2 separate regions of the Homo sapiens genome follow, and region 2 is linked to region 1. The links are contacts of gene promoters, found by promoter capture Hi-C in human tissues and cell types (Jung and others, 2019). All regions are on one chromosome and are shown on one strand. Each heading gives the region's core, a stretch centred on a gene start or on the middle of the fragment in contact. The rest is flanking DNA. Distances are from core to core; before and after follow the strand shown. Region 1 holds the start of ALPL (alkaline phosphatase, biomineralization associated). Region 2 has its middle 64 kb from the start of NBPF3.

The links. The method cuts DNA at HindIII sites, captures the fragments that hold promoters and counts their contacts. A contact is called where the count stands out against the background at its distance.
Region 2: a fragment that was not itself captured here is called in contact with the fragment with the promoter of ALPL in region 1 in 1 of the 25 tissues and cell types used here (mesenchymal stem cells).

Annotation. Positions count from the first base shown.
Region 1 is chr1:21,507,974-21,511,149 of GRCh38, forward strand. It overlaps ALPL (alkaline phosphatase, biomineralization associated), which reads left to right and starts at 1,450. Exons shown (of 12, transcript NM_000478.6): 1 at 1,450-1,544. RefSeq lists a silencer at 1,258-1,357 and enhancers at 1,393-1,963, 1,964-2,533. The HindIII fragment of the contact is 25,718 bases long and covers 1-3,176 here.
Region 2 is chr1:21,374,202-21,377,377 of GRCh38, forward strand. No RefSeq gene overlaps it. Among named protein-coding and RNA genes, the nearest start is that of NBPF3, 64 kb to the right of the region's middle. The HindIII fragment of the contact is 4,268 bases long and covers 1-3,176 here.

The sequences.
Region 1 (3,176 bases), core at 200-2,699:
ATCTGAAAAGGGAACCTATGTCACGCCTCTAAATAAACAGTATCAACCAAAAATACAAAAGAAACAAAAATAAATACAAAGACATTCTTGGTTTCTGGCACCAGGCCCCAGTTCTGGCTCCAACCTTACTGAGAAGTCACATGATCTCTCTGGGCCTCAGTTTTCTCCTCTGGAAAATGGAGCTTTTGGAAGTTAATGCATGCACAGTGCCTGGCCCTGAGACTGGCATGGAGTGAGTGGAAGAGAGGTTGCCTGACCTGGCTAAAATTGGTTCTCTGGGCAGACATTTTCCCAAGGGCCACTGAGAAGACCCTCCTGTTAGGAGTCAGTGAGCTCTGTCGCTGGAGGCATTCAAACAGAGCCTGCGGACTTCTCACTGCGAAGTTGCCCAGAGAATTCAGTGCTCAGAGGAAAGGGAGTGGTTATTCCATCAGAGCTGGTTCCCCAGGAGCGGGAGCAGGGCCTGTAGCACCCAGCCTCTGTCCCTGGCTCCCGTCTATCCGGGATTTTAGCGTTTCCTCTGTAGTTTTCAAGCACTGTCTCATATGACTCTCGCACCAGCGAGAGGCCAGGGGAGATGGTGTCTGCCTGTTAAAGAGGGGCAGGCTGGTCCACATAGGTCAAGTGACTTGGCCAAGGTCACCAGAGCAGAGTTTTGAACTTGAGCTGTCTGACTCAACTGCCTGGGAAGTGCCTGCCCCTCCTCTGGCATCCAGGGAGCATGTCCTGGGGCTCTGGCTGGGACATAGCCGGACACCTGCGGGCCCTTTACGTCTCTAAAGAGAGAAAGAGGGAAGGGCCCCTGTCTAGGGGGTGGTTTCCCTCCAGATGCCACCCCTCCGAGGTCCCCTTCTGCTTCTTCTTGCGGTAGCCAGGGAGGCAGCCCACGGGCAGGGAAGCGGGGGTGGGGGTGCAGAGTCAGAGGTGCACGTGGACAGAGACAGAGAGACAGGGACACGTGGGCAGAGACGGATAAAGACAGAGACCCAGAGAAAGCCAGATATGTTGACAGACACAGAGACAGACGCCAGAGAGGAAGGCAGACAAAGAGACGGGTGGAGACAAAGACTCCCACCAAGAGACGCAGAAGGAAGATGCCGACGGTAAAGACAAAACAGGAGACGCGCGCAAGGAGCAGGTCAGAGCCCAGGCTCGCTGAGAGAGGAAGGGCTGGGCTGGGGCAGCCCGGAGGCAGAGAGACCGAGAGTGCGGGGCGGGCGAGGGACGCCAGGGCCGCGTCACCCCAGCCCGTTCCTAGCTCCGCTCCCGGCAGGGGGCGCCCTGGCCTCGTGGCACGACCGGCCCGCGGGGCGCGGGGCTCGGGCCGGGGGCGGGGCCGGGGCCGGGCTGGGGAGGGGTTGGGGCCGGGGGCGGGGGAGGGGGCGGGCTGCCCGGGCCTCACTCGGGCCCCGCGGCCGCCTTTATAAGGCGGCGGGGGTGGTGGCCCGGGCCGCGTTGCGCTCCCGCCACTCCGCGCCCGCTATCCTGGCTCCGTGCTCCCACGCGCTTGTGCCTGGACGGACCCTCGCCAGTGCTCTGCGCAGGTAAGGATTCGACGCTGCCCCGCGCCCTGGTTCCCCAGGGCCCCAGCGGACGTGGTCCATCCCCTTCTGCATCCTCCGCTGGCCCCGTGGTTGAACTTTAATGGCAGGGCCGGGGTCTCCAGCGCCACGCCGCCCACAGCAGCCCATTCGGGACGCCCTGCAATTGGTCCTGCCCCTGTCCTCCCGCGCATCCCAAGCTCCCGGCGCGCGCTCTGGGCGGGACAGGAGATTGGACGTGGCGCCCGCGGAGCCGGCGAACTCAGGGGACCGCGCTCGGGACCGCCCTGCAGTCCCAGGGTCTCCTACCTCCCGAGCCGCTGCCTGGGACCCTGCGCTCTGTCTGGGCACCTGCCCTTGGTGCCCCGTGACTGAGCCCCTCCTGGTGCCTCCTTAGCCGTAGCTCTAGAGACCTGGGCTGCCAACCCCAAGGCCTCGTGGCCTGGCGCCCTCCCAGGCGTCCCACCTGACCCGGTGGGGTCTAAAGCAGTTTGGTTTGGGAGGAGGAGAGGGCAGGAGGCGCTTGGAATGGGGGGCGTGGCGGGAGGAGACAGAGGACACCCGCGTGGGTGTCAAAGTGTGGGCACCCACTGTGGGCACCGCAGCTGTGGGGCAAAGCTCTGGAGCCCGCGAAGCCGAAGGAGCCTGCCGCCCCCTTTAGGCTTTGCGAGGTGGGCCTCCCAGGGCTGCTTCCCTGCCCAGTCTTGGTAAGAAAGGGTTAAACGCAGGTCTCAGCAGAAAGGCAGGAGGCCGAGGAAAGCCTCCCCCACTCCCCATTGTGCCTTATGACTCTTTTTCAACACATAATGGGGTCGAAGGCGGGGCCTTTACAAAGGCCTCTGGGTGGAGGGTGAAATTCCTTGAGATCAAAAGAGGGGGCGATTCTTGGGCCAGGAAGGGCTTTGGGCCCTGGGAAAAAGTCAGACCGCTCAGGTGGGCCCAGCTGCCCAGGGAGGCAGGGGTTGGGTCCCAGCCTCAGTGTAGATACTGCAACTGTTTTTTGAAGGCCTACCGTGCGTAGAGGGACCTGCTCTGACATCTCATGTACATCATTTCATTTTACAAATGGGGAAACTGAGGCTTAGACAATTTAAGTAAGTGGTGGGACCAGGGTTTGAATCCAGACTCCAAACTCTGCAGCCCTAGCGTCCTGCTCCCACTGTGTTGCCTAAGAGATAGGGGGCTGAGCCTTGGTTTTGTCTTCCGGCTCCTCCTGGGCTCAGCCCGCTCTTCCTCCACTCTCCAGTCTTGCTCTTTCCAACTGTTTAGTCCTCCCCACCTGTGGGTGTCCCCACGCTGTCCTGCCCCAGCCATCCCACTCCCTGGCCCCATGCATCTTGTTCCTGTGTCACCTTTTTCTTTCTTTAACTGAATACCTGTGAATTCCCTCAGAAGAGGCCCCTGGACACAGCTTCTCAACATCCCAACTGGTGAAGACTAGGCTGAGTGATGATCCCGGTCCATGTGCCCATTTGTAAAAAGGGGTGTATTCCCCTTTCGGGACTATTGTGAGGAATAAAACTGAACTGAGGCCAGAACAAGATGCTATCTTCATTCAGCAAATACTTAAGCATCCGCCGTGTGCCAAGCTCTGTTCTAGGTGCCGGGAATGCCACAGTAAATCAGCCAAAAGCC
Region 2 (3,176 bases), core at 399-2,898, 130 kb before region 1:
ATGCCAAAATTTAGCAAATATATCTTTTTTTTTTTGAAACAGGATATTACTCTGTCGCCCAGGTTGGAGTGCAGAGGCATGAACACAGCTCACCGCAACCTCCAACTCCTGGGCTCAAGCTATCTTCTCACCTCAGCCTCCTAAGTAGCTGGGACTACAGGTGTGCACCACCACACCCAGCTATTTTTAAAATTTACTTTATGTAGAAACAGGGTCTCACTATGTTGCCCAGGCTGGTCTCAAACTCCTGGCCTCAAGCAATCCTCCCCACTTGGCCTCCCAAAGTGTTGGGATTATAGGCATGAGCCACCACACCTAGCCGAAATATATATATGTGTATATATACATATATATATATGTATATATACACATATGTGTATATATACATATATATGTATATATACACATATGTGTATACATATATATATACACATATGTGTGTATATACATACATATATATATATATATATATATACACACACACACATATGTGTATATATATATTTTTTTGAGATGAAGTCTCACTCTGTTGCTCAGGCTAGAGTGATGTGATCTCAGCTCACTGCAACCTCTGCCTCCTGCCTCCCGAGTTCAAGCAATTCTGTCTCAGCCTCCCAAGTAGCTGGGACAACAGGCACCCATCACCATGCTCGGCTAATTTTTGTATTGTTTTTAGCAGAGATGGGATTTCACCATATTGGTCAGGCTGGTCTCGAACTCCTGACATCAGGTGATCCGCCGGCCTCAGCCTCCCAAATATAGTCTTATAGGACAAGCTTTAAGTACCTCCAAGATTGGAAACAACTCAAGGATGCCTGAAATCACGGATACTACTTAACTTAGCCCTAGAGTTCTTTCTTTTTCTTTTTTTTTTTTTTTTTGAGATGGAGTCTTGCTCTTTTTCCCAGTCTGGAGTACAGTGACGCGATCTTGGCTCACTGCAACCTCCTCTTCCCAGGTTCAAGTGATTCTCCTGCCTCAGCCTCTTGAGTAGCTGGGATTACAGGTGTCTGCCACCGCATCCAGCTAATTTTTGTATTTTTAGTAGAGATGGGGTTTCGTCATGTTGGCCAGGATGGTCTCGAACTCCTGACCTCAAGTGATCCACCCACCTCGGCCTCCCAAAATGCTGGGATTACAGGTGTAAGCCACCGCTCCCTGCAGTCCTAGAGTTCTTGCTGACATTTCAGAGAAACGGAAAAGTGTGAGGATTGAAAAATAAGAGGGAAAACTGTGATTACTTGCAGATTATATAGTCACCTACAAAGAAAAACCGATAGAATAATTACCAGATAAAAGGCCTACCTATTAATATAAAAACTAGGCCGGGCACAGTGGCTCATGCCTGTAATCCTAGCACTTTGGGATGCCGAGGTGGGCGGATCACCTGAGGTCAGGAGTTCGAGACCAGCCTGGCCAACATGGTGAAACCCCATTTCTACTAAAAACACAAAAATTAGCTGGGTGTGGTGGCATGCACCTGTAATTCCAGCCAGTCGGGAGGCTGAGGCAGGAGAATCATTTTAAAAGAGAAACCATAAAAGTTTGGAAAATTTGCAGCCTGACAATGTGGTAGAAAAGAAAAATCAATTTTTTGAGGAGAAATTCAAGCTGGCTGTAGAAATTTGAATAAGTAACAAGGAGCCGAATGTTAATCACCAAGACAATGGGGAAAATGTCTCCAGGGCATGTCATAGGTCTTCATGGCAGTCCCTCCCATCACAGACCTGGAAGCATAGGAAGAAAAAATGGTTTCATAGGCTGGGCCCAGGGTCCCCATGCTGTGTGCAACCTAGGGACTTGGTGCCTTGTGTCCCAGCCACTCCAGCTGTTGCTGAAGGGGGCCAAAGTACAGCTCGGCCCATGGTTTCTGAGGGTGCAAGCCCCAAACCTTGGTGGCTTCCACGTGGTGTTGAGCCTGAGGACGCACAGAAGTCAAGAATTGGGGTTTAGGAACCTCTGCCTAGGTTTCAGAAGGTGTATCAAAACACCTGGATGTCCAGGCCAAAGTTTGCTGCAGGGGTAGGGCCCTCATGGAGAACCCTTTGCTAGGGCAGTGCAGAGGGGAAATGTGGGGTCATAACCCCCACACAGAGTCCCTACTGGGGCACCGCCTAATGGAACTGTGAGAAGAGGACCATTGTCCTTCAGACCCCAGAATGGTAGATCCACCAACAGCTTGTACCATTTGCCTGGAAAAGCCACAGACACTCAATGTCAGCCCATGAAAGCAGCCAGAAGGGGACTATACCCTGCAAAGCTGCAGGGGCAGAACTGCCCAAGACTATGGGAACCTGCCTCTTGCATCAGTGTGAACTGGATGTGAGACATGGAGTCAAAGGAGATCATTTTGGATCTTTAAAATTTGACTGCCCTGCTGGATTTTAGACTTGCATGGGCCCTGAAACCCCTTTGTTTTGACCAATTTCTCCCCTTTGGAACAGCTGTATTTACCCAATACCTGTACCCCCGTTGTATCTTAGGAAGCAACTAGCTTGCTTTTGATTATTCAGGCTCATAGACAGAAGGGATCTGCCTTGTCTCAGATGAGACTTTGGACTGTGGACTCTTGGATTAATGCTGAAATGAGTTAAGACTTTGGGGGACTGTTGGGAGGGGATGATTGGTTTTGAAATGTGAGGACATGAGACTTAGAAGGGCTAGAGGCAGAATGATATTGTTTGGCTCTGTGTCCCCACCCAAATCTCCTCTTGAATTGTACTCCCACAATTCCCACATGTTGTGGGAGGTACCTGGTGGGAGATCATTTGAATCATGGGGGCAGTTTCCCCCATACTGTTCTTGTGGTAGTGAATAAGTCTCATGAGATCCGATGGGTTTATCAGGGGTTTCTGCTTTTCATCCTTCTCATTTTCTCTTGCTGCCACCATGTAAGAAGTGCCCTTCACCTCCCGCCATGATTCTGAGGCCTCCCCAGCCATGTGGAAGTGTAAGTCTAGTTAAACCTCTTTTTCTTCCCAGTCTCGGGTATGTCTTTATCAGCAGTGTGAAAATGAACTAATAAAGATGGGGTTTCATCATATTGCTCAGGTTGGTCTCGAACTCCTGGGCTCAAATGATCCTCCCACCTCAGCTTCCCAAAGTGCTAAAATTACAGGTGTAAGCCACCTTTCCCAGCTCTTGTTTTTTAAAAATATTGTACAAAGTATCTAGGG